Linked DNA regions of Homo sapiens: regions 2, 3, 4, 5, 6 and 7 are each linked to region 1. Evidence: promoter capture Hi-C in 16 types of primary human blood cells and fetal thymus (Javierre and others, 2016). All regions are on one chromosome and are shown on one strand. The core of a region is centred on a gene start or on the middle of the fragment in contact, and the rest is flanking DNA. Distances in the headings are between cores, read along the strand shown.

Evidence for each region. The method cuts DNA at HindIII sites, captures the fragments that hold promoters and counts their contacts. A CHiCAGO score of 5 or more calls a contact.
Region 2: the fragment with the promoter of CFAP91 here is called in contact with the fragment with the promoter of B4GALT4-AS1 in region 1 in 1 of 17 cell types (total B cells); the score reaches 5.2 in total B cells.
Region 3: a fragment that was not itself captured here is called in contact with the fragment with the promoter of B4GALT4-AS1 in region 1 in 7 of 17 cell types (erythroblasts, megakaryocytes, M2 macrophages and 4 more); the score reaches 8.3 in erythroblasts.
Region 4: a fragment that was not itself captured here is called in contact with the fragment with the promoter of B4GALT4-AS1 in region 1 in 3 of 17 cell types (naive CD8 T cells, total CD4 T cells and total CD8 T cells); the score reaches 6.9 in naive CD8 T cells.
Region 5: the fragment with the promoter of ADPRH here is called in contact with the fragment with the promoter of B4GALT4-AS1 in region 1 in 2 of 17 cell types (naive B cells and erythroblasts); the score reaches 5.1 in naive B cells.
Region 6: a contact is called between a fragment that was not itself captured here and the fragment with the promoter of B4GALT4-AS1 in region 1, in 7 of 17 cell types (total CD8 T cells, non-activated CD4 T cells, total B cells and 4 more). The highest score is 10.1, in total CD8 T cells.
Region 7: the fragment with the promoter of TIMMDC1 here is called in contact with the fragment with the promoter of B4GALT4-AS1 in region 1 in 9 of 17 cell types (activated CD4 T cells, naive CD4 T cells, naive B cells and 6 more); the score reaches 9.1 in activated CD4 T cells.

Annotation. Positions count from the first base shown.
Region 1 is chr3:119,224,732-119,228,590 of GRCh38, reverse strand. It overlaps B4GALT4-AS1 (B4GALT4 antisense RNA 1), which reads right to left and starts at 2,105. Exons shown (of 4, transcript NR_046574.1): 1 at 1,910-2,105. B4GALT4 (beta-1,4-galactosyltransferase 4) reads left to right here. Exons shown (of 8, transcript NM_003778.4): 4 at 1,550-1,782. RefSeq lists a silencer at 3,131-3,303. The HindIII fragment of the contact is 1,940 bases long and covers 1,657-3,596 here.
Region 2 is chr3:119,701,255-119,705,113 of GRCh38, reverse strand. CFAP91 (cilia and flagella associated protein 91) reads right to left here and starts at 2,092. Exons shown (of 18, transcript NM_033364.4): 1 at 1,892-2,092. The coding sequence starts at 2,015. LOC105374064 (a long non-coding RNA gene) reads left to right here and starts at 2,071. Exons shown (of 3, transcript XR_924391.4): 1 at 2,071-2,618; 2 at 3,693-3,859. RefSeq lists enhancers at 1,774-1,833, 1,884-1,933, 1,927-2,606, 3,273-3,859 and a silencer at 2,044-2,213. The HindIII fragment of the contact is 3,012 bases long and covers 576-3,587 here.
Region 3 is chr3:119,682,733-119,686,591 of GRCh38, reverse strand. No RefSeq gene overlaps it. Among named protein-coding and RNA genes, the nearest start is that of COX17, 7.3 kb to the right of the region's middle. The HindIII fragment of the contact is 1,303 bases long and covers 1,278-2,580 here.
Region 4 is chr3:118,872,537-118,876,395 of GRCh38, reverse strand. No RefSeq gene overlaps it. Among named protein-coding and RNA genes, the nearest start is that of IGSF11-AS1, 69 kb to the left of the region's middle. The HindIII fragment of the contact is 882 bases long and covers 1,418-2,299 here.
Region 5 is chr3:119,577,775-119,581,633 of GRCh38, reverse strand. ADPRH (ADP-ribosylarginine hydrolase) reads right to left here and starts at 2,142. Exons shown (of 5, transcript NM_001125.4): 1 at 1,783-2,142; 2 at 998-1,083. RefSeq lists enhancers at 993-1,212, 2,153-2,252, 2,037-2,538 and a silencer at 1,833-1,972. The HindIII fragment of the contact is 4,349 bases long and covers 600-3,859 here.
Region 6 is chr3:118,890,172-118,894,030 of GRCh38, reverse strand. No RefSeq gene overlaps it. Among named protein-coding and RNA genes, the nearest start is that of IGSF11-AS1, 51 kb to the left of the region's middle. The HindIII fragment of the contact is 229 bases long and covers 1,849-2,077 here.
Region 7 is chr3:119,496,461-119,500,319 of GRCh38, reverse strand. It overlaps TIMMDC1 (translocase of inner mitochondrial membrane domain containing 1), which reads right to left and starts at 1,773. Exons shown (of 7, transcript NM_016589.4): 1 at 1,393-1,773. The coding sequence starts at 1,586. RefSeq lists an enhancer at 1,984-2,033. The HindIII fragment of the contact is 2,873 bases long and covers 1,249-3,859 here.

The DNA.
Region 1 (3,859 bases), core at 856-3,355:
ATTCCTTCACAGATTATACAAGCTGCGATGTAAAAATGAGTCAGGGAAATGCAAATTTTACTGGCTGATTATTCCCCTTGCTTAAAATGCTCACAGTATATTTAAACAGTAAATTCATTCATAAAGAATAGAGGGACAGTGATGCATTACTGGGCAAGTACTGGACTAAAGGTGATGTGGTTGGTGATGACTTAAAATGGGCCATTAGTGACCCAAGGAGGGGCAGATCTTGAGAAGATGTTGGGGTAGGGGGAGTGATAGGGAGACTGATAGAGAGTAAGTGGAAGCAGATACTAGGTTAGGGCACGTAAAAAGTTATGACGATGAGAAGGTGAGCCGGGGGACTAGTTTATATTAGACCTGTTGCGTGAGGCTCTTTGAGCGCGCAAGAACAGAGACACAGTCAGGTTAACGATGGGGATTGTGAACAGGCCACACAGGAGACCATCTCAACAGCTACCCCATTATCTCTGGTAGCTCGATAGCCCAGCATCAGCTCTAGTAGTTGTCATCTGTGTAACTCCATTCCTTACTGTTTGTTTTTAGGGCATTACTGACTGCTGTGTCTTGCATGTAGACCCTGCAGGAAGGCTCTCGTAGGCCAATTATTCTCTTTGGGTGGCTTGAAGAAGTTACTTACCTTGCCTGCTGTTGAGCAGAGCACCAAGGTGCCATTAGACACGTGAGCCTGGTCTAAGCAGCCATGGCCAGGGTAGGGGATGGTTACATGGAACAAGTCATGGCGACTTTCGCACAGGAAGGGCCTATGACTGCTTTACTCAGAAGGGGATAGCTCAATTTGCAAGCATCTTGAGATTTTACAGCCTGACCAGTATACGTGGAATTTAGAAACAAACAAACAAAAAAACCTGAGCTGTTTTCCTCCTGTGGATGGCTTTGGGTTTCATCTGTTTGGATTGCTTCCAGACACTGAGCAAATACTGTGCTCGATTGGAAACGTCTGTTGTGGTGGCAAAATGGGAGAGTTGTTGCAGTGCCACACATACCTGTTACAGCTGGGTTAGGGAGGGAGACTGGTTTCTACTTCTTTTTAGTGCTTTGCTTACAGGGAGCCAGGGTGGTTCCAGAGTTTAGGGAAGGGGTGGGAAGAGTGCCTTGTCCAGGAGCTTGATTCTGTGGAATGCTGTTGATATTTAAGAGATTTTCCCCTCCTCCTGGAATTTGGTGAAGGAAAAGAGGATAGACCAAAGTTGAAGTTACTCTGTCTAGCCCTGCCCTTTGCTCTTACCAGAGTTCACCAGGATATTCCCTCTTACAGATGGATCATAGAGCAAGTTGATTACCCAGCCACAAGGAAATGCTTATATTATATATCCACCACTTGCTTTTGCAGCCAGTAACCTTAGTGACATGATGCTCTGGCCATTATCATGACTAAATGAGCCTTTAAAGTAATCATAATAAAAGCTGACATTTGTAGTACTCACTGTGAGCTGGGCAGTGTTCTTTCTATGCATATTAGCTCGTGTAAACCTCAACACTTTTTGAAGTAGCTACTGTTATTGTCTGTGTCCTATGTTCATTGTAGGAGGCCAGAGCAAGCTCATTTTCAAACCAGATCTCACTTTGGAAGAGGTACAGGCAGAAAATCCCAAAGTGTCCAGAGGCCGGTATCGCCCTCAGGAATGTAAAGCTTTACAGAGGGTCGCCATCCTCGTTCCCCACCGGAACAGAGAGAAACACCTGATGTACCTGCTGGAACATCTGCATCCCTTCCTGCAGAGGCAGCAGCTGGATTATGGCATCTACGTCATCCACCAGGTGAGCGTGGGGGCAGACCAGGGCCTGCCCTCGACCCTCCTCTTCTCTGCCAGACTTGGCCATGTGACTGTTTGTCTATGTTGGGTAAAAGGAACATCAGACTATCATCAAAAACGAGTTCTCTTACCTCATTTATCCTTGAAAGGAGTAGAGGAAATTCTTGTCTCAGAGTGTGGAGTTATGGGTTCAAGTTCTGGGAAATTTTACTGCCCTTAAAGGAACCTCTGGAGGAAGCCTGTTTTGTGAGCCCTTCCATGTTAGCCAATGACTGCCCTCAGATTTCCCCGGAGGCTTCCTGGCCCCTTCTGTTTCTTTCTGTGCGTGCCATGCACTATATGATGAGATTCTGGAATTGTCTGTCATTATCAACCATAGCAACTCAATGGGGATCTAGACAGAGGATTTGAAAGAACATTCTGTATTAGTAGCTGTGGTGCTCTATGGCTGCCACCACATTTCTGCCCTGAACTTTGCCACTATTTATTATGTGAAACATATTATGTTTGATTTTCACTTTCTGGATTCATCTATTTGACTTCCAGAAGCATGATTTGGTAGGAGCACAGCATAACTATCGGCTGCTTTTGAAGAGCTTACCTCTGAGGTCAGTGGAGTGGATGATTAAAGATACCTCTATTTGGCATTAAAGTTTATTGAAAGAAAACTAAGACATCAGTTTAAACATCAGTGTCTAAACTTTTCACAGTTATCCTTGGCCATCCAAGGAGGCCAAGAAGAGGGATAATTCCCCCTCAAATTCTTATAAATTCTAAGAATGTCAGCAAAATCATCACTACTGTTAGAACAGGTAATATTTCTTTTAGATAAAACTTTGGACAACTCAGAGGACCAGCTCTGCAGTATAGACTTGGTGATAAACTGAGGCTCTTGAAAATCAGTGTGCTTATATAGCACACCTATGTCTGTATTTTAGTACTTGGAACAAAATGTTACTATTATATTGTTTTATAGCTATTTTTGTTTTTAAGGTTGTTGGTCATAGTTATGATTTATTTGATTCTGAGTTCTTGCTCAGGACAGTAACCTACAAGGTATAGTACTATTTTTATGAATAGAAAAACATGTTTGCTTTGGGCCAGGCCCGGTGGCTCAGCACTTTGGGAGGCCAAGGTGGGTGGATCACTTGAGGATAGGAGTTTGAGACTAGCCTGGCCAGCATAGTGAAACCCTGTCTCTACTAAAAATACAAAATACTCTGTTAAAATACTAAAAAAAAAAAAAAAATTAGTTGGGTGTGGTGGCACATGCCTGTAGTCCCAGCTACCCAGGAGGCTGAGGCAGGAGAATCACTTGAACCCAGGAGGTGGAGGCTGCAGTGAGGTAAGATCACACCACTGCACTCCAGCCTGGGCAACAGAGCGAGATTCCATCTCAAATTAAAAAAAAAGAAAAAGAGAAAGAGAAAAATATGTCTGCTTCGTGTTATTCTTATCAGGAAAACATTGTGGTAACTTCTGAGAAATACTTGCACTTTTATGATAAACCACTTAACTGGAATTCATTCTGAAGGAATTTGAATGAAGCAGCCATGAAAAAATTATTTAATTTTTTTATTACAGCTTCAATCATATTACAGGTCAAACTGTGTTCTTTTATTGCCCAGTGACGAATCTACCTCCATAAGGCCACTGTGAGGATTAGCCTCCACCAGTAGCATTATAACAGGATTCTCTTACAGGGATTTCTGAGAAACTTTAAAGTAGCTTAGAAATATTAGCAATAACTTTCTCTTTCTATAGGTTGAGATTTCTTGATCCTTTCTGGCAAGCTATTAACTAAGTCTCTTAGAAGCTTAGTGTAAATTCATAACAGAGGGTAAGATTGGGATTACCTAGGGTTGAACTGTGAAGCAGTAATACTAATTGACATGACTAGTATATAAGAAAGGTTTTGTAGTTTTATACAGAATACGTAAAGGTATTTGTAAAATTTTAAGAGAAAATTTTTTTTTGTTAACTGTGGTAAGAATATTTAACATGAGAGCTATACTCAATACATTTTAAGTGTACATTATTATTGATTATTTGAGTTATTTGTATTTTAAAGCTGCTTTTAA
Region 2 (3,859 bases), core at 843-3,342, 480 kb before region 1:
AGGCTTTCTGTCAGATGGAAGGAAGCAAGCATAGAGATGTGTTGCTTAATGATGGGGATACGTTCTTAGAAACGGGTTATGAGGTGAGCTTATCGTTGTGTAAATATCAGAGGGTACTTAACATAAACCTAGCTGGTATAGCCTACTCCACACCTAGGCTATATAGTATAGCCTATTGCTCCTAGGCTACAAACCCATACAGCATGTTATTGTACTGAATACTGTAGACAGTTGTAACACAATGGTATTTGTATATCTAAACACAGAAAAAGTGATGCATTGGGCTACAATGTTATGACAGCTACAATGTCACGAAGTAATTGGAGTTTTTCAACTTCATTATAATCTTATGGGACCATCCTTATACATGTAGTCCACTGTTGACCGAAATATCATTACTTGGGGCTTGATTATACATAGAAAGAAGGCTAGAGTTGCCAGATAAAATACAGGATGCCCAGTTAAATTTAAATTCAGATACACAATGAATAATTTTTTAGTATAAATGTGTTCCAAAATATTGCACAGGACAAAAATTTATACTAAAATATTATTCATTATCTGAAATTCAAGCTTAACGGTGCCTCTTGTATTTTTATTTGCTAAATGTGGCAACCCTAACAAGGTGAAAGGTCATAAGGTCAAAGAAAGAAAGCAGGAGAGCACAGCATCTTAGTTCTGATTTTCCCCATCCAGGTTCTCATCCGCCCTGGCTATACTTCGCTTCCTGTCCATGACTAGCGGCGAGATTGTTTTATAACAATCCAAACTTTTATTTGATCTACTCTGAGTGAATTTCTGTTCTTAGCAAGGGACATGGAAACATTTAGCAATTCCTCTGCAAAAGAGACACTTCGGCATCAAAGAAACAACCAGCTTAATAAATACTTTGGGGAGATGTTTGTCCTCCTTCTCAAATTACCCGTGAAAAAAAAACATGGTGATGTGTTTACAGGAGCTAACTTGATTTATTTCACAAAACCAAGAGTAAATACAGAAAAACACTGGCCAGAATATGTCAGCAATCATTACACAGCCTCTATCTAGGAATGTGTACCCTAGATTCCCACACAAAGGAGACTGGGATTCCCAGAGGCAACACCACATTGCTGAAAGCAATGCAAGGTTCAGGTGAAAAACCTGGGATTGCAGAGGGCAAAATTGGAAAAAATCATGCTTATAGCTGGTTACAGTTCTTGCCACGGCAAATTCAATAAACATTTATTTATTGAAGCGCCTAGTATATGTATCAGCACTAGAATAGGTGCTCAGAAGGCTACAAAAATGTGTAGAACAGGAACTTAAGGAACTCAAGGAGCGTGGAGAGAGAGAAAACATAAAATGGACAACCAAGCCGTTAAAATAAACTGGGGTTTTATTGGCCCAAGAGGAGCCAGCGGACCCAGTCTATAAGCAATGCTTTGACGCAGAAGTTAAAAAAAACAAACAACAACAACAACAAAAAACCTAAAAACAAGCATGGGATAAACTGGCACTTCTTTTCGCCCAACTTGGATTTGCCCAGAGAGTTGGAGAGAAAAGATCATTTTTGTAGGGCATTTTATGCAGGAACGTTGAGTGAATCTCCGAGTGTACAAATCGTTGCACACTTTCTGGGTACCAAAACGCCCGGAACAGGTTTCAGGAAAATCGCCCCCCGAAGCGGAGCGCACCCGCGCCTTTCGATGTACCCGAACCCCCGACCCCAACCTGAGTGCGGCCACCTGGAGGGCTCGGAGCTGCCCCCACCCGACCAAGGACAACCGTGGGCAAGAGGTCAGTCCAGAGGGTCGTGTTTCGTTCGCCATGCCCCTGGCCAGGTCCCACCATCTGGGAGCCCACCTGGCCTAGGAGGCGACGGACGCGGAGGAAGGTCTGCGGCGGTCCTTACCGTACAGAAAATCATACGCTCGATTGGAGGAGATGTGGCTCCCAGCCCGCGACCTCTCCCGGTACCGAGTTTGAGACACCTGCGGCTGGGCCTGGGGCTCCTCGATGGTTACTGCGTGGCTCATGGTGCCGCCTCTTTCCTCCCGCCAGCAAGGGACCAGCGGGTCAGGCCTGGCTACTGCGTGCACGTCGCTATGGTAACGGCCGCCGGCGCGCAGGGATAGGGGGCGGGGCAAGGAGGAGGGAGGAGGCCGCGGGGCGGGGCCGAAGAGGAGTGGAGAGAAGTGAAAGCAGGAGTGGCCAGGCCAGGGTCAGGAGGAGAGTGGAGGGGAAGATGAGAAGAGAGGGGAGGGGCAGGATGGGGGAGGAAAAGGCTGGCTTCCCTCTATACTCCAGAGCCAGCGGGGAGGCTGGGAGAAAGCTACTCTTAAGTCATTGATTTGCCAGTTACACCTCGTAGCCTCTCGGAAATCCCTGGGAGATCTCAGAACCTTCTAGAATAATTGGGTGCCTCCCCGCCCCTCCCCCCAGCCCTTTTCCAGGGGGCTTGTCCCGAGAGCTGCGGAATCCAGTCAGGTTCCTAAATGTTGCTCCTTAGCACGCTGTGAACTTTGCCCCACACTCATTAGCATCAGTGTTTAGGATGGGTTAGGACATCAGTAACTGTTGATCTGAGACTGCTGACCCTTTCTGAGTCCTGGGCATTAAATAACAGAAGATGATGTGGGGTAGGCACTGGCTCTGCTTTTGAAAACTATTTATAATGGAAAATTTTAAACATAAGCAAAAGTGATTCTACTTTTAATAACAAACCCTCAAGTAACCCATCCCTCAGAATCAACATTTAGCAACATTTTGCCAATCAAGTTTCAGTTTCCTTCCCCTCTTTTTTAAAGAAATCCTAGACATAATATTATTTTACCCTTAAATTAGTCTGCATCTCAAACTGACATAGATTTTAAAAATTTAACTACCGTTATCATATCTAACAAAATTAACAATAATTCCTTAGTACTATAAATAATTCCAATTTTCCTGTTTGAGTCCAAATTATCTTTTATAGTTGGTTTGTTCCAGTCAAGATCCAAAAAAAGTCCTCATGTTGCATTTTGGTATGTCTCTTAAGTCTTTTATCCTAGAGCAGTGAATTTCTAATCCTTTCAATAATTCTCTATTATTACCAGAGGTTCTTCTATAAAAGGAATCTTTTCATACCAACTCATTGGTTATCCTGAGATAACCAGGATAATCTCATAGAGGAAAGACTGGGTAAATGCTGGATTTGTTCTTTTTAATTATGAAATTTCAGAGACATGAGTTGGTGCCCTACCAAACTCCAGAGTTAACCACAAAGTTTTTGTTTGTTTGATATCATTATGAATGCATGCATTTTTTACAGATCTGATGTTTTAATCCGTTATGATCATTATTATTTATTACACTCAGATTATTAAAGCTAATGGCATGCCTTAGAGTTGGCTTCTTTGTCCTTTAATGTTGAGACGAGAAGTCTTCTTCCGATCAAAGGTTTTTCTCGATCGAAGGGTTCATGGTCTCACAGGCTTCAAGGAATGAAGCCGTGGACCACAGTGGCAAGTGTTACAGCTTCACTAGAGAAATGCGTGGACCCAAAGACTGTGCGGTGGCAAGATTTATTAAAGCCAAAGCAAAAGTAAAGGGAAAGCGAAAGTAAAGCTTCCACGTGGTGGAAGGGAACCTGGAAGGGTTGCCATTTCTGGTTTGGGTATCTTATGTTTATATCCCCTTATGACTCCTCCCCTTTTCCTTTTTCTGTCCCATAGGATTAGGTTATTTTCTATCCACTTGTGGGTTTGTAGCCGGACGAGCCACAGACAAGAACCGCTCAGACACCGAGTTATGGAAGGAAAGGGCTTTATTCAGCTGGGAGCATTGGCGGACTCACATCTTCGAAAACCGAGCTCCCGGAGTGAGCAATTCCTGTCCCTTT
Region 3 (3,859 bases), core at 680-3,179, 460 kb before region 1:
CAGACACTCAACACCAGCCCATGAAAGTAGCCGGGAGGGAGGTTGTAATCTGCAAAGCCACAGGGGTGGAGCTGCCCAAGACCATGGGAACCTACCTCTTGCATCAGCATGACCTGGATATGAGACATGGAGTCAAAGGAGATCATTCTGGAGCTTTAAGATTTGACTGCCCCACTGGATTTCAAACTTGCATGGGCCCTGTAGTCCTTTTGTTTTGGCCAATTTCTCCTATTTGGAATAGGTGTATTTACCCAATGTCTGTATTCCCATTGTTTCTAGGAAATAACTAACTTGCTTTTGATTTTACAGGCTCATAGGCAGAAGGGACTTGCATTGTCTCAGATGAGACTTTGGACCATGGCCTTTTGAGTTAAAGATGAAATGAGTTAAGACTTTGGGGGACTCCTGGGAAGGCATGATTGGTTTTGAAATGTGAGGATATGAGATTTGACAAGGGCCAGGGGCAAAATGATATAATTTGGCTCTGTGTCCCCACCCAAATCTCATCTTGAATTATACTTCCATAATTCCCACATGTTGTGGAGGGACCCAGTGGGAGACAATTGAATCACGGGGATGGTTTCCCCCATACTGTTCTTGTGGTAGAGAATAAGTCTCACAAGATCTGATGGTTTTATCAGGGGTTTCCACTTTTGCATCTTCCTCATTCTCTTTGCCTGCTGCCATCCATGTAAGATGGGTCTTGCTCCTCCTTGCCTTCCACCATGATTGTGAGGCTTCCCCAGCCATGTGGAACTGTAAGGCCAAAGGCCAATTAAACCTCTTTCTTTTGTAAATTGCCCCTTCTTGGGTATGTCTTTATCAGCAGCATGAAAACAGACTAATACAGGGTGTGTGCAATTGACCTTTTTCTTCTTTCTTTCCTTTTTTTTTTTTTTTTTTTAAGGCAGGGTCTCACTTTATCACCCAGGCTGGAGTGCAATGGAGTGACCTCGGCTCACTGCAACCTCCGCCTCCTGGGTTCAAATGACTCTCCCTCAGCTTCCTGAGTAGCTGAGATTATAGATGTGTGCCACCAGGCCTGGCTAATTTTTGTATTTTTAGTAGAGACGGAGTTTCGCCCTGTTGGCCAGGCTGGTCTCGATCTCCTGACCTCAGGTAATCTGCCCACCTCAGCCTCCCAAATTGTGGGGATTACAGGCGTGAGCCACCATACCCAGCCACAACTGACCTTTTTCATCCAGTGATTAGCCTGGCTTTCTCCCACAAGCATGTGGACAAGTTGATTAAGATCAGAGAAGCTGGGCTAGTAAGCTTCAATTGTAATGTTAAATTCATCAGCAAAGCAAAGAGGGTCCTGGGTAACTTTAGGAAATTCCTTGGCTTTAACATGGATTTCAGCCTTATTCCAAGGGCATAGACAATCTAAGGAACCTCAGGATTGTTAGTGGGTCTAACCCTACAGGGACAAGTTTTTATAGGTTGAGGATGGGGATCAGAAGCTGGGAGGGTAGTAGGGGAGGAAGTATCAGGATTGAGTGGGGTTTTCAGAAAGGGAAGGGTAGAGAGGAGAGAGAGGTGGTGGTACCAGGGGAGCAGAAAAACTCTGAGTTTCTAAGGCCTTTTAAAATCTTCCTTTCGTTGTTTATCTGTCTTAGTTAACTTAGTGATGGTATTTTGGAGTTAGGTGATTTTTGAGGCTTGAATACATTTAGATGCTTCAAGATACCACTTAAAGTTTATGCTCCTTTCAGGCAATTTAATTTTGTAGCCATGGCCTTCTAATTTAGTTCTAAGAAAACAAGTTAGGGAGTTCAAGAGATGGCCATTGTAATTCCAAATTTTCTTTAGTGTAATTGGTCCATTGCGATAAAAAAAGAATAGGAAGATGGACCATAATAATTAAGCATATAACAAGCTAGAGTCCCCAATGTTGGGGGGCTATTTTGGTATATCTTTGAATTTGGGGAGTTCATTTGTAAATAAACATATCCAAGTGAGTCAGTGCAAAGCCAAACACACAAAAGCCAAAATAAAAATCAAGCACACAAAATGAACCAAAGAGTAAAGTACATACTCACCGGGAAGAATGACAAAGCCTTCTTCAAATCCCTTACAAATAGAGGCCTAATAAATAGGAGAGGAAAGGCCCTTCATAAAGAAATCCCAAATAAAGCTGAAGAACTCAAATCCAAAAAAAAAAAAAAAAAAAAAAGGGGTGTTTAACCCAAGAAAGACTCACTGGGGTGAAAAAAGATCACCAGCGGAAGTAGGGGGCTCAAGGGGTCTGACAGTGAGTACTGCACACCATAGTTCCAGGGGCCATTATCTTTCCAAGTGAATCTGCTTTGCATCTCACTTCTGACACCATGTAATGTCAATAACAGATAGAGACTAATCTCCAAGCAAAAAGAGTTTATTTTGAAATAAACAAAGAAATAGGATTGCAATCTGGGACAAACATACAAACTGAAGTGGTCTCCAATATATTCAAAAAAAAAAAAGGAAATGGTTGAGGTTTCATTGGGAAAAGAGAAAGGTTATTGGTGCTTGTGGCATTTTGCAGGAGCTGGCAAGCTCTGATTGCTGGGTGGCAAAAGTTACTAGGTAAAACAAGCTTTGAAGTCATGGCAGCCATTTGTTGTCAAACTAGTCTTAAAATTGTAGCAGCTGTTTCATTGGATTGGGCTTGTGGGACAGTTTCTGGAGCAGGCTTTTGAGACCTGAGTGTTTTTTCACCCCTATGGTCCTCTAACTCTAAATTTTAGTTGGGTATAACAGGAATGACTCCATTTGTATAATCAATTTTTCACTTTAGATAATCGACCTGTGGTAGACAGATTCTTAAGGTGGCCCCTGGATCCTGACCTCCTGGTGTTCATGTTCTCATGTGATCCCCTCTTTTCAAGTATTTTAGCCAATAGAATATGCCAAATATGATATGATAGATGTAATTACATGGTTCTCTTACATAAGACTGTAATGCCCATATTTCTGGGTGGCTCTCTATCCCTTGCTGGCTTTGAGGAAGTAAGTGACCATGTTGGGAACCCTATTTGGCAAGGAACTACAGGAGGCCTCTAGGAGCTGAGGGTAGCCTCCAACTGATAGCCAGCAAGAAACCAAAGCCTTTAGTCCTACAATAGCAAGAAACTGAATTCTGTCAACAACATAAGATTGGAAGCATATTCTTCCCCAGTAGAACCACAGATGAGACCACAGTCTCAGCTGAAAGCTTGATTCAAGTCTTGTAAGACCCTAATCAAAGAAGTCACTTAAGTAATGCCCTTGACTACAGAAACTGTGAGATAATAAATATGTATTACCACCAGGTATGTGGTAATATTGTTATACAGCTGTATTAGTCTCCTTGGGTTGCAATAACAAAATACCATAGACTGGGTGGCTTAAGCAACAGATATTTATTTTTCACAGTTCTGGAAGCTGGGAAGTCCTAGATCAAGGTGCCGGTCAATTCAGTACCTGGCAAGGATCCTGGCTTTACTTCTGACTTGCAGAGTGCTGCCTTCTTGTTGTATCCACACATGGGTACAACAAAAGGACTCTGGTCTCTTCCTCTTGTTATAAGGGTACTAATACCATCATGGGGGCTCCATCTTCATGACATCATCTAAACCTACTTGTCTCCCAAAGGCTCCATCTTCAAATATCATCACACTGGGGATTACGGTTTCAGTATATAAATTATGGCAGGACACAAACATTCAGTCCATAGTAATAGCAATAAATCACTAATACACAACCTTCGTGAAATCAGGTCATGTCATTTAGGTTACTTGTATTAAAATAACTTTGATATTGGAAAGGGATGTTAGTTCATAAAATTTAATTAAAACGAAGTACATAGTAATGTTGGGAGATAATTCTCCATGGGTGC
Region 4 (3,859 bases), core at 609-3,108, 350 kb after region 1:
GAACCAATGTGGTTTCTCACTGCCGTGCTGAGATCCTCTTTCCAACGCCTTTACAAAGATAGCATCCCCATTCCCAGACTTCTTTTCTCCTCGACCAGGCAGCCTGGTGAAAATGTGCAACAGTTCTAGAAAAGGGGCGTAGAAACACAGATTCCTTTTATTTATTCTAGACCGAAACTGGGGGCTCATAGTGACATCCAGTCACAATTTTATTTTGTCTTTTTTGGCTTACCAAAGGCTTAGCTTCTCTCGATTTATTTATAGAAATCCACATATCGAAGGAGAGAATAAGGGTAATTTTTATGTGATACAGGTCTTTGCAAGAATTTGCAGATGGTACATACTTTTGTCTCTCATGGAAGATATGCAGTTTTTCTTTTGGAAAGGGTACAGAAAGACCTGGCTACACCTTTCTAACAGATAACGATTACTTTCTATTTGTTCAATTTAGTCCCATCAGAACTCCTTATATGACAGTGCCAGGAGATCTAGGCCCCATTTAGGATATTTTTTGGAGAATGTCTTATACGGCATTTAACATAAGTGTGTTGTGACCTAATCCAGAGCTCTTTTACAGGAAATTCTCAGGCAATTAATTTCATTGTCCATGACTATAGTTGGTTCATTTTCTCCCTTTCAGCACTCTAAGAATTATGGCGATTTCTTATCAAAGAAATAGTTAATTTGAAATTTTACTTGGAAACAGCACACAACGAACATAAATTTCATATAGAGGCCCAAATGTCTTGTGTGGCCAACTGTGATGTTTTTTACCTTGTCCATGTAGCTGACGCCTTGGCAAATATTTCCTGGGCCTCCGTGAGGGGCATCATCTAAGTCATCTGGAATCTATTCTTTTCTCCAACTCTACTGCCAAAAGCACATCTTTAGATCTTTAGTTGTTGTTTGGGATTCTGGGTAATATAGAAACCCACTGCTTACATCACATGGCTTTCTATTTAGGACTTAAAAGAGAAAGGAACTGCAGTTCATTTTCTCTGTGTTACACTATTTTTGATTCTCTTTGTTTTTCACCAGCTATTTTCTTCCACTCATGTGCACAGTATTTCTTTTATGAACCAGCTGCCCTGCTCATTTTAAATTGAGATTGTTTTACCCAATTATTCACCTTCTGCCTCTCTTTACAATGCTTCCTACATTGTAGCCACATTGCATTATTAAACATTTTCATGATAAGCAATTCAGAGCAGTATTCAAAATTAAAAACATTCATCCTGAGCCAAATAGGAGCTCTAGTTTATTGGAACGTGCTTTAACAATAATCTGATGTTTCTCAGAAGGTTATCAAATTCCAGTCTGAGTTTCTGGATGGTAGATCTCTTTTTAGGATCCCAGCACCTAGTTAACCTCTTCTAATTTGCCATTGGTTCTTAGCAATTTGGTTCATGCTAAAGCTTCTTTGATTTCAACAGCTGATTTTTTATTAGAAAGTTTTCCCTAACTTCTGTCTCTCTCCACACCTCTTTGAGAAATAGGAGCAAGTTTGCTTCCTACCTCATCCATTAATTCTAGGTGAACTACATTGTACTATTGTATTAATTAAAGTGGGCATTTATAATAATGCACCAAACTTAGCATTGTGTAAGTGAACAGGAAATTCTCACTATTGTTGGAAAAATTTAAAAAATATTACCCTTTGAGACACTCTCTAGGATAATCTCAAATCCTTCATTATGTGCTTCTTAAGTAAATGGCATTGCCTTAAAAGAGCTGTATTTCTTGTCTGTCCAAGTCTACCTTTTAAGTGACAAAATTGCAACAATGGTAAATGCATTGCTTCCCGTGTCCTCCAAGACTTCACAGCTCATATCTCAATACTTCAGTCTCTCAAGTGCAAAATGAGGATAATAGTTTACAGCATTTAAGATGTGAAGCACTTAGAACAGTCACTGAAACATTATTCAATGCACACTAGCCACTATCACTATTATTTGAAATGTCTCATTGTTATAAATACATATTTTAAAATGTGTGCAAAGTCAACATTGTATTTAAGACTATTGCATTCCCCCAGTGCCACAGTACCACTAATTGAATTTGTGATTTAGGTCTCTCCAGGCAGAATTCAAGGCTGTGGCTCGGCTTTAATACCATCTAGATATTGGATTCCTGACCTGACTTGTTGAGTCTTACCTATCCTGTATTCTTTTTCAATTGTCTCTGCCTACCAATTGAGATAGCCTCCGATTTTACCTGTGCTCCTCCTCCTCTTTCTCTCTCAGCCACTGGTGAGTATTTACATGAGCTAAGATTTAGGAGTGCTGTAGATCAGGAAGCTTTGTTGGCATTAGTGGCTGATTCAGTTTCCCCAGTGCCTGTCCCCTGTGGCTGTGCTGAGTGCTCTCCTGGACCCTCCTCTCTGGTCACATCCTGTTCTAAGTAATGGTCCATTCAGATGTGATCTTAGTCTCATCGTTTTAGTCCATTTGTGCTGCTAATAACAAAATACGACAGACTGGGTAATTTATAAACAATAGAAATTTATTTCTTACAGTTCTGGAGGCTGGGCAGTTCAAGATAAAGGCACCAGCATTCAGTGTCTGGTGAGGGCCTTCTTGCTGTGTCCTCACATATTTGCAGGGCCAAAAAGGCAAAAAGACCCTAAGCCACTTCCCTCCAGATCTTCTATAAGGCACTAATCTGTTTATGAGAGGAGAGCCGGAATGACTAATCATCTTCCTAAAGTCCCCACCTCATAACAACACCACCATGGGGATTAAGTTTCAACATATGAATTCTGAAAAACATTCAGACAATAGCACTTAACATTTAAAAGTTGCTTAATTTCAAGGCCAAAAATTAATCTTATGTTTCAGAATATTATTCAAAAATCCCTCACAAGCAGTTTAACCTCAATGTGATATGGAAGACCAGTGGTCATTACAAAGTATGTTGTTAGAAGTCTTTACTATTTCCCAGATGACTGGAAATATGGCCTTACACTAGAGTGACCCTATTACCAGCTCACTCAGGTTAGTCTCAGTTTATATTTGTAGCCTAGGAATTATTAATAGTGTCCCTCAATTACTCTCAGAGTGTCTTAATTTGGGCAATAAGTTTATAAGGTCACCACAGCTTGAAATGATGTCTAGTAGTCATCCTCCAAATTATTTTATGTCAGGAGTTCACAATCTAACATCAGTTTTCCGTAGATCTTCACATTCACATTACAGCTTTGTTGACTCTTTCAACATCTCTATTTTAATAGCTCTGAGACAAAACTTCAGGAAAGTTATGTTGCTTATCTTAGAAACCTAACTTTCATGGTGAAAGGATATGATGAAAATAGGAATCTCCACCACAGAAGAATAGAAAAATCTCTTCCTAGGAGATATCTTTTCCTGAAGCTTTTTTTGATTGCCCAAGACAGGAAAATAAATCTTCTGTGATTATATAAGATAATGTATACTTATCATAGGATATACATATCATATTCAAATTAATTTTGTCCTGTGACTATGCTCCTTGAAGATGGGAACCATTTTGTAATTATTTGCTTCTTGAAGGTGGTAACTATTTCATAATTATTTGTGTTTTTCCAGGCCTCACACATGGCACATAGTAGATGCTGAAAAAAGTTTGTGAATCTGAATATTGGAACTCAATTGAACTCAAGACTATTTTTATCAACACTTCTAGTGATCAAAGTTGATTAGTATATACTAGAAGTTGCTGATTATAAAACAAATTAATCTGATGTGTTATTGGTCATGCAGGCCACCCACCCAGTCTATCCTTCTATCTACTATGTGTGAAACATTCTCTTCCTTCCACTTTATGTGGAGATAGGTGAAACATTTCCTCTTTTCATTCTCTCAGTAAGTCTGATGACTCCCTA
Region 5 (3,859 bases), core at 893-3,392, 350 kb before region 1:
ACAGTATGCATTTCACAGATAAGAAAATGAAGGCTCAGATAAGCTAAATTCACAAAACAAGAGGAGTGGAAGTACTGGAACCCAAATCTGATTCCAGCCAAGCCAGGATGCTTGGTATCACACCACTCAGCCTCAGTCCAGATCTTCTTACCTTGGGCAACCTCTTGGTGCCTCAGCCTCCACATTTATAAAATGGCACTGATTTTAAAAAGTAACAACCTCCTGGATTTGTTGTTAGGAATAAATAAATTAAATTTCATAAAGTTGGCTGGACGCGGTGGCTCACGCCTGTAATCTCAGCACTTTGGGAGGCCGAGGTGGGTGGCTCATCTGAGGTCAGGAGATCGAGACCAGCCTGGCCAACAGGGTGAAACCCCATCTCTACTAAAAATACAAAAATTAGCCGGGTATGGTGGTGCATGCCTGTAGTCCCAGCTACTCAGGAGGCTGAGGCAGGAGAATCGCTTGAACCCAGGAGGCAGAGGTTGCAGTGAGCCGAGATTGTGCCACTGCACTCCAGCCTGGGCGACAGACCAAGACTCTGTCTCAAAAAAAAAAAAAAAAAAAAAGTTCTTAGAGTGCTTGGCACATAGTAAGCTTGATTTTTGACATATTTGTATTATTCATATACAACCAGGGAAAATGGGTGTTCTGTTTTAGAACTAGAACATTTTCTCCCCACAACCTTTCCTTCGACAGTAATGTTTAAATATTGTTTCTCTTAGAAATGATCAGCTTCTAGAGAATTCGAATCTCTATTAATAATATACCCACCATGAATGAAATCCCTGGTAAAGCGCTGGCTTCCCTGTTGGTGCATTTCCTAAGAACCCCCCTCTTTCAGCCAATTCCTCAGGGTTCCCTTCTCCCTGTGGCTTTCAGGTCAAAGCCCTCCATCCCATCCAGGCCAATACTTTTATAAGGGTCTGGCAGACTAGCTCATTCTCCCCTCAGGTGAAACTTTTCCCTCCCCTCCACTTATCTAAACCCTATTTACCCAAGGTCTAGTTCAAGTCAGGAGGCTTCCAGAAGTGCTTCTGCAGCTGCACTGCTGTTGGCCATGGAATGCAGGCTGGAGAGCCCCTGGAGAAGGAGTAAACGACGAAGATGGATGCGTTCCACTACCCAGTTACTGGTAATGCTGAGTTTCTGAGCTCACAAAGGATATTTGTAAATGTTATTTACATAGTTTATTATTTACAGTGAAGCCTAGGCACTGAGATTCTGGGCTACTAGACCTGACAGACACCCGGGACAGCGGTTTGCCCATCTGTAAACTGGAGGGGGAAGTGGGGAGGTATAGGCTCTCGGAAGTTCCGTCCTGCGCTGCGATTTTCAGACACTAGGCCAAGACACTCTGCTTCTTGGCCTCGGAGGACTAACTTTAACCCCCCATACCCTCCCTCTCAATGTCCTCATTGTCCTTTCCGTAATTCCTTCTGGCTCCACCCTAATGTGTGCTTCTGTGAATTGCAAGCTGGGATGGGGGAAGAAGACCGGCATCTTTTTTCGGTTGTAAATTCCCTTTAACGTTCGCTTTCAGAACGCTGTAATTACTTAACTCCTCTGAACTTTCACGGGTCACATTCTCGTACCCGAACTATACATTCAGAACTAAGATCTGATCAGCTGCTTCCGGGCCATGCCCGGCTTTGGAAAGAAACGGGGCGGTTGACACGCTCCCACGATTTGCAAGACTGGGAATCCTCATGGTCGGCCACACTCGGAGAGCGCCAGGGGCGGGGGAGGGGAGCGCGGGGCCGAGGGCCGGGATCGCGATACCTGCTGTAGCCTGGACTGGAACGCGCGAGCGACGGGCGTGGCGCGGGCTCCCGGGGCCGGGGAAGAGGCCTTGGCTGCTGCGGGTGGACGAGGGCGCGGGTTGGGGCGGAGCCGGGTCACCGGGTTCCGGGACTGTCCCCAGATAAGCAGGGTGGCGGCGAGGGCCCCCGCACCTGCGCTTGGCCGCGCTGAGTGAGCTAATCTTGGAGCCTCCAAGGCGGCTTCCTGGCACCGCCGCGCCCTTCTGCACCCAAGCGAGAGTGGACGGGACCTCCGTCGCCCGCCCCAAATGCTCTGAAGAGCCCGGAGCCTGGTGCCCGGAATGTGGCGGCACCGGAAAGCCGGCTCTCGCCTGGCTGTGGTCAGTGACTCCCGTGTGGCCCCGGCTGACGCCTTCGCCCGTGCTCACGTCCGACTTTGTAGGACTGTAGTGGACCGGGTGTGCCCAGATGCTTGAAGAGCGTACTGAGTGTGCCGCCCTTGCCAGGGTTCTGGGCCCTCACGCATAAAGTGGGATAATAATATCTGCCTCTTAGAATGGTTGTTAAGGATTCAGTTAGTTAATTTTAACTAGTCATTTATTTGGCAGCAGCGTAGAATTCTTGTATCCTGATCGTAAATAAAAGCAAAGAAAAACGAAGAGTATTTTTGTCTAAATACATTAATCATGTCACTTTTAAAGCAAATCAGAATCACCATATGCAAATATTCTATATATTTCTCCAAAGTTTTAAATTTGCTATGCCTATTTTCTTGCTGTAATGACTAGCCTTGGTCTGAGAGCTTTTTAAAAAATTGATATATAATTTATATATAATGAAATGTCCTTACACCATAATCGAGATATGAAATATTTCCATCACTTTAAAACATTCTCTTGTGGCCTTCCCAGTGAATAACCATCTCCATCTCCAACTCTAGCCTAAGTGACTTTTGAGTGTTTACAAAAATCAAGTTCACCAATAAGGGAGGCAGAGATCACCTCCAACCCCCTACACCCTCTAGCTCTTAGTGAGCTAATCAGCTGCATCTAGAAGCCAAATTGACACTAGGCAGATTAACAAGAGAAAAGTATACAAATTTTATTAATTTTACATGTACATGGGGATGTTAAGAGACTGAATCCTGAAGAAAGTGTCCAAAGCAAGATGCTTTTATACTTTTTAGAAAAAGAGTGATAAATTTAAGAAGAAGTGACAGGACAAAGAAAATCCGGCTAGGGTGGTAAAAAATTTCTAGGGGAGCCCCTAGGAGATATATGGGGGGTGGGGTGTAAAACAGGTGGAAGATAATGGTTACTTTGCAAGAATGTTTACTCCAGTCCAAATGCCACCTCCAGTTCCAAATCTCTGGTGATGAGAGCTATTTTCTCGCTCTGGCGTGGAGAACATACCTCTCCTAGAGGAATCTTTATTGCTGGCTGCATGCAGGAAGAGACAGCTCAGCTCCTGTCAGGGAACCAGGCTCATTTGTCTTTCACACAGTATGCCAATCACTGAGGCGCACAAGTTTTGCAGTAGAGAAAGGGTGTATTCACAAGGCAGCCAAGACAGGAGACTGGAGAACAGGCCTCAAATGTGCCTTTCCAAAGATGGAATTTTAGGAGTGCTTATGGGATAGGGGAGGAAGGTGGTCCAAGGTTCAGAGAAAGATGAGGTAAGGAAAAGTGAGGCAATCGGTAATCTGAGCAAGCATAGTCAATCTTCATGGCTGTTCATAGAACACATGTTCACAAAATCGTGACGTTAGCATGATCTGAGAGTGGAGTTTTGGGCCTTCTGATGTCAAAAGGTCACCCATTGGACACTCACGCAGGCCAAGATGAAGGGCTGGTGGCTTGAACTGGACAAGAACTGACTCTAAGTTCCTGAAAAATAACTTAAGCAATATTTTCCATGGTGTCCTATCAGAGAAGTTATCTATAAGGAGGCAAGTGGAATTTAGTTATGTATCGTCTAGCTACATGACTTTTAGCTATGCAGGTTTTAAAATCGACTAGAAGCAAGTGACCAAAAGCAAGCAAGGCAAATTAAGTGTCAGGCCTAATCAGGTCAGCCCTCAGTTTTACCCTTTCTGA
Region 6 (3,859 bases), core at 714-3,213, 330 kb after region 1:
AGAGAAGTAACTGCAGCCATATTCTCAAAAAGTCCATATTGCAGGAGGGATCCACATCTGTGAGCAAGTAGTTGCAAGTCGTGTAAGTATATGAGTGGATGTTTATGCAAGTTCAAGCATATGGGACTACTACTTCTATATCTTGGTTGTGGTCACAACACTTAACACGTTGCTGTATTCAGAGAAAGTGCTTGAAGGATGCGCTAAATTCATGAAACTGAAAATATATGATTTGGTCTCTTAACTTCAGTGTTAAAAGTAGCAGTCAAATATTAGAATATTCCCAAAGCAAGGCCACATCAGAGTCATTTACTCATGTGGCAAATGATTGTGCCAGTTCCTTGGGGGCATTTGATGTTATATTAGAGATGCAGTATTGTTTGGGAAAGCTGTGGAGATAACATTCTTAATGCAGTGGTTTGGAAGAATCTTAAGTAATTATGAAGGGTTTTGTGTGAAAATATCTGTTATGCTTATTACATGGCAGTACATGAAAAAATGCATTTCAAGTACTAATTTATTTAATTTTATCACACTTCTACATGGACGCTATCATCACTCATATTTTACAAGTTCAGAAACTGAGGTGGTTAAACATTTTTCCCAGACTATTCAGTAATCTGTCAGTTGCTTTTCTCAGTAGATATTTCTGTCTGACTGAACCAATGTCTAAAAAGAAAGATCTGGGATCCTCGTCGTTTTGCCTTCAAATAGCCCTCTTTTGGACAAATCACTTGTGTTAAGTAAGATGATATTCAACTTCACAGAAAAAATGCTGAGACAATAAATGCAATTCAGAGAAAAGTTGACTTGTAAATTCTATGTGTATACAGCTATTTATAGCTTTTCCTCACAGCTTCCTTGTGAAGAAGGTATTATTTCCCTATTTTAGGTAAAGGCAAGGCACAAAATTCTGACTTAATCATAAGACATTAATGATAGAGACAAGTTTATTAAACAAAGCAATAAGTATAGTGCCTACTATGTATTTAACACAGTGAGGTCAGTTGATACCTGATTAATTTTAGGAGGTCAGATTAGAATAGATAATTTAGCTTATTATAACTTACATTGAAGCCATATTTCTCTATCATCCATCAGTTGCTCCCTCAGTTTATCAGATTTGCAGCAGTTTTGCATTTGAGGCTTGGACAAGATTGTATGCCTATATATATATATATATGTATGTGTGTGTGTATATATATATATATGAATGAGCTTCAGTTGTCCATTACATTGGACAAACTACAAAATTCTCTAAGGCTCAGTTTCATCTACAAAATAGAAACAATATAATAGTTATCTTTGAGATTGTGAGTACTAAATGAAATAATGCACATAAGATGAATATCATGGTGTCTGGTGATAGTAAACACTTGATATTTGCCATTATTCGTAGTAGTTCAGAAGCTTTAAATTTCTAGGCAATAGCTATGTCATTTACACCTACTCAGTATTTCAACTCTTTTTGCCAGAAGTACTATTTGAGTGCTACTGCATATAAAATAGCAATTTGGGACATTTTTTTGTTTAAGAGAAAGGAGAAGCCTCGGTAATTATTGTCTACCCAAATACTTTCTCCTATTTCCCTTTTCCTCACATTTTGTTCCAAAATAACACACTTATCTTCTGATTACTATCAATTTCAAATCGCTGAGGATAATTAAGAGGGTGGGAGAACATCAGCATTTATAGAGCACCTACTGTATGCTAGACAGCATACTGGACACTTTGTGTATATCCCATAGAATCCTCAACACTTTCAATTTTAGTACTGTATTATGCTAATTTTACAGATGAAGGAACAGGCTTTCATGGGTTAAGTACCTTGCTCAAGGTCATAAAGCTTGTAAGATGTAGAGCCAAGGGCATTGCTCATCTGTTGCCATATACTGTCCTTCCATTAAGATAGCCAATAAATAGTAAAGGTCTTGGTACTGCCTCAAATTTGGCCTGGCATAGACAAGAGTTCTTTATTCTTTCTAGTCATTCTTTGCCCATTAAAAAAATTATTTAATAAAATTACCATCTCTGACTTATAAGACTATTAGAATAATTTTTTCCATGCGGTCAAGCTTTTTGAGTTTTTCTCCTCTTAATTTCTGCACACTCGGGGGGGTCTCACAGCCGTTTAATTCTTTCTCATCACTTTCCTAGGGCATTTGCAATTTGTGTAAAACACTAGTTCCCTTACCACCTTCAGCTCTACAGTCAGAGCTATTGCTAGGGGAGGATGCGTTTGAGGAAATTCCCGTAGGCGAGAAGTTTTGAGGGGAACACAGAGGTCTTTGAAGACATGGTGAATTTGGAGGAAATTCTACGTAGAAGGATGCCTTTTGCTACCCTGGGCCTGCACTTGAGTCCCAGCTCCGTCACTTCCTACTGACTTGAGGCAAGCTGTTTAGCCTCTCTGGGGATATAACATGGAGATTATAATTGCTACATCATAGGTCTGAGGATACCATTAGATAATGTATATAAAATGGTATAGATAAATTGTAGCTGTTACTGGTTTACTTTTTAAGTCATGTATTTGAATTTTATAAGGAGAAAAACGGAAGTTCTACTGGAGAGATTAGAGAAGACCTGAGTCTCACATACAACCAGGTTGTAACTCTTTTCTTCACCTCCCCTCTCTCAGTCATCCAGAGATCAAGGTGTGTTCACCCCTCCAACTTCACAGTGCTGATCCTGTATTATGATGTAAGTAGAGGCGAGGCTGTGATTTCTGAGCCCCAATCCCTTTAGTATAGAGATCACAACCTGAAATGCCTGTGAAGGTAAAGTAAATGAGAGAACTGGGCCAGATGGGGAGCATGGTGACTTGGAGATTTATGCCCTGCCTAAAGAGGTTAGCAGCTACTCAGCTCCCACCAAGAGTGGTCAGTAGGACTTGGGTCCAGGATGGCCAGGTCTCTTGAATCTTCAAGAGAAGCCAGAAATGCTTATTTGTATCTCTCTTGGATTGTATATGTCGGCAATGAATTTTTTTAAGTTAAATCCTGCTTAATTATACATTCCTGTGGGTCTGTGTGGCCTGTGGTCCAGTATTTACAATATCTGTTATTAAGCAGACTTGTTTCCAGCAGCTTCATGGGTGGATCCAGCTTGGAGCTCTCCTCTTCTGAATAGTATCGAGTAACAGGAAACTATGTGTCAGGTGCTGCTCTAAGCATTTTACATCTATTAAATCATTTTAATCCTCACAACCACTGTATGAGATAGGTACAAACACTATCCCATTTTGCAGATAATAACACCGAGGTACAAGTGATAAGTAACTAGCCTAAGTTTATATGGGAAGACCTGGGACCTGGATTCAAATATAGGCAACCTGGCTCCTAATTGCTATATAGTATTTTCTAATGTTTGTGCTTTCAGAAGAAAAAGAAACGGTGCATTTCTGGTAATTTTAAATTTTCAAGGAATATTTCAATGATTTAGATCAGTACACTGCTCTCCCTAGTTCTTGAAACAATCCGGGCTGACATTTTGGAAAGGAGGGGAAAAGGGCAATTCTCTCATCAGGCTTCTTGGGCAAAGCTCTTCTGAAGTAAATGGGGCTGAAAGCCCCCATTGTGTAAACTCAGCCCACACCTCCCCACAGCGAGAAGTCATAAGCAAGTCTTGAGTCTCCACATAACTCTAGAGTTTTATAGAGGAAACTCTTCATTAACAATGCATTGATTTGTGACCACACTTCTGTAAAAAGAACAGCTTTCATAGAGTCCTCTGCAGCTTGCTTGCTTGCTTTTTTTTTTGAAGTGTAGTGTTTTTGCTTACTTGCAAAGCACTAAAGAGGAGTTAACTTTTAGATGGGTACAAGGAATCTTCAGATGTGTTGCTGCTAGTACTTTTT
Region 7 (3,859 bases), core at 524-3,023, 270 kb before region 1:
AAAAGTTTTTTAAAAGGTGCTTTTGATGACTATTACACCCCTAGAAATAGGAAGAATTTGTGAGTTGGATAGAGAGACCAATATTTCCGTTTAAATCTTAAGTTAACTTTTAGAAATCACACCAACTCGTGAGATTTTAGGGCAATGTATGAAAGAATAAAAACGTGGATGTAAGACAAAAAATCTAAATTCTATTTTACTAAATAATTTCATGAAATACTCAGATAGGACTGTACTAATAAAAGCACTGGGCTGGGCACAGTAGCACACGCCTGTAGTCACAGCTAACTTAGGAGGCTGAGGTAGGACTTGAGCCCGAGTTCAAATCCAGCATAGCAACATAGCAAAGATCCTGGCTCTAAAAATAAACAAATAAATGTTTTTTTAAAAACGCACTGGGAAAGTTCACTATGCAGTGGGTGGCACATGCCAATCTAAAATAACAAGGAAAAACTACTATTTAATTCGATTTGTTACTCTCAAATGCATAAGAAGCTAGAACTGCTAATGAAGCTTCCAAGATGTCATCCTGAGACTGCTCTAACAAATAGCTGTCTTAAGTATTAAGTTACTATAAAATAATTGCCCTTCTAGGCCGGGCGCAGTCCAGCCGCGGTGGCTCAGGCCTGTAATCCCAGCACTTTGGGAGGCGGAAACAGGCAGATCACGTGAGGTCAGGAGTTCCAGACCAGCCTGGCGAATGGTGAAATCCTGTCTCTACTAAAAATACAAAAATTAGCTGGGCATGGTAGTGGGCAACTGTAATCCCAGCTACTCTGGAGGCTGAGGCAGGAGAACCGCTTGAACCTGGGAAGTGAAGAGTGCAGTGAGCCAAGATCGCACCACTGCACTCCAGCCTGGGCGATAGAGCGCGACTCAGTCTCGAAAAAAAAAAAAAAAAGAAAGAAAAATACGAGTTTGGGCTGGCGCGGTGGCTCACGCCTGTAATCCCAGCACTTTGGGAGGCCGAGGTAGGCGGATCGCCTAAGTCCAAGAGTTCAAGACCAGCCTAGGCAACATGGTAAGAACCCTGTCTATAAAAAATACATTAAAAAAAAATTAGCCGGGCGTGGTGGTGCGCGCCTGTAGTCCCAATTAATCGGGAGGCTGAGGTGGGAGGATCACTTGAGTCCCAGAGGCAGAGGTTGCAGTGAGCCGAGATAGCACCACAGCACTCCAGCCTGGGCGACAGAGCAAGACCCTGTCTGGAAAAAAAAAAAAAAAAAAGAAAGAAAAAAGATACAAGCTTGGGTTACAAATATCAGAACCTCAAATATAATCTAAAAATGAAGCACACCATCCTTGGTGTCCTAAGGCTGACCCAGGCTGCCCACGCTGCAGGACACCGCTTTCGCGGCCCCCTACCCCACTTCACACCCTAGGCACTTTTACTCTTTGCCAAACAGCTCCCGGAGGCGGTCCCATCCAGATTCCGGGTAATAGGGCTCTGGGACGTAGGGAAGCCGCTTCTGACGCTCCTCAAGGACTTCCGAATCGGCAGTCACAGCTTCGGCAGCAAAGACTCGGGGAAATAGGCACAATGCTCTACAGAGAAAGCTCCGCGGTGCCGGTGGCGGCACCTCCATGGCCTTCTCTCGACCTACGGACAAACTTGAGCGCTCAGGACTTCAAGTCCTCGCGGACGTGCCGCGGGAGAGCGTAACTGTACGAGGTGAGAATCCGTGCATTTGACCCAGGTTAACCCTCTGCCAGAGGGCTCGACACCCACACCTTCAGTCCCCGGCCTCGCTTTGGAGTCCTTGGAAATACGACACAGGAAGTCCCGCCCGACCGGGGCAAAGGCCAGGGGGCGGGGCGACGGCGAAGCCGGAGCCCAAAAGACTTCCGGTTGAGGGCGGGTTGGGCCACTGCTGTGCTGAGTGCACCCCCGGAAGTGAGTTGGCTGCCAGTAGTGAAGCTCAGCGTGGTCCCGGCAGGCCTTCGCTCCGTGTTTGTGGTTCCTGGGTCATGCAAACGGTGTCTGCGGCTACTTATATTCAGCTTGAGGTGGTCATAGGTTGAAGTAATTTATCGTATTTAAAATGCCAGGAATTAGCCGGGCATGGTGGCGGGCGCCTGTAATCCTAGCTACTCGGGAGGCTGAGGTAGGAGAATCGCTTGAACCCGGGAGGCGGAGGTTGCAGTGAGCCGAGATCACACCACTGCACTGCAGCCTGGGCAACAAGAGCGAAAATCTGTCTCAAAAAAAAAAAAAAAAGGCAGGAATCCCGCTTCAGTAAGGAAGAAAGTGCAATATTCAGTGCAAGTGGAGTAGGGAAAGAGGGAAAGGCGATTTGTGCAAAAACAAGTCCAACCTACTCTGCCAACATTAGAGAAGCCTTCCAGGCTGGGCGGGGTCCGTTTGTACCTTGTCAGTTCTGCTGGAAAAAAAACGAGGCATTGGGGATGGGTGTTGGTGCCAGTTACACTAAGATTTCGAGAACACTTTTTTGAAGAATCAGCTTTTTGGCAGGTCTTCCTAAGGTGGATTTCACTCCCTTTAGTTCATATGCCTACTGCTTCTCAAAAGGCAGGAGAATTTCTGGAATTTCTATCAAGTGTTTGTATAATTTGCCGTCACTACAACCTCTGCTAACATATGCTTCGAAGTACAGTTTTCATTAAAATGAATGCATTTAAAATATTCTCAATATTCGTGTAATTTCATTCAATCCTTGTTAACAAGCATACTCCCTTATTCATTTTGCCAATCCCTTCACCTCCTTGATTCCTTTCTAGTTGTCAATCAAAACTGCCACACTGTAGTAGAATACAGTAAGTGGACTTAGGAATTTGATAGCTGGAAATGCTACACATAAGTCCCTGAGAAGTGACTGACTAGAGTGACCAGCTCAATTAGTGACAGCGCCATGAAGACTACTCTGGGATATGAGATTTGATTCAGCACTCATCGTAGCACTTACAACACTGCATCATAATTTCCTATTAATCTGTCTCAATAAACTATCCTTGAGATCACAGACCAAATATATTCATCTCTGTATCTCCAGGACCTAGAACCGCAGTAGGTGCTCAGTAAATATTTGTTGAATAATTCAGATCTCCTGACTTCTGGCTCTGGATTACTGCTTATCCCATGTTAGGTAGAAGTGGGCACCAAGATAAGTTACCAAGGCCTGAAAGCCCAAGAAAATGGCTGTACAGTCTGTTTCTAACCTATATGTAGAAAAAGCTAAATGCATAAGATGACCCCAGAATTATTCTGGGGTGAAGGAGGACTTGAAATGGGTAGGAGGGTTTGGGTGGGTGTTGGGAAGATACTGACACAATCACTTATGTACAACTCAAATGCCCCAGGATTCACTAGCCTGTAGATGAGGTAATATTAACAGGCAAATTTTAAATTCCATAACTTGTTTCTCATTTGGGTAACGGAAGACTCATTTGTAATGTTCCTTTTGCCACCTGATAACTCAAAAAACTCCCCTCTCCTTTGGCTACTGCTCGCACTGTTGCTGCTCTTCCATCTGAGCCCTCCCACATTTCCTACTTCCCCAATCCCTTACGGCTTACCTTCTTTTAGAACAAGGGAAATGCTCACCCTCCTCTGTAGTCTGCTTATTTTATTTTATTTTTGATACAGTCTTAGCTTCGTCACCCAGGCTGGAGGGCAGTGGCAAGACCTCGGCTCACTGCAACCTCTGCCTCCTAAGTTCAAGTGATTCTTGTGCCTCAGCCTCCTGAGTAGCTGGGATTACAGGCATGTGCCACAAGCCTGGCTAATTTTTGTATTTTTAGTAAAGATGGTGTTTCACCATGTTGGCCAGGATGGTCTCAAACTTCTGGCCCCAAGTGATCTGCCTGCCTCAGCCTCCCAAAGTGCTGGGATTACAGGTGT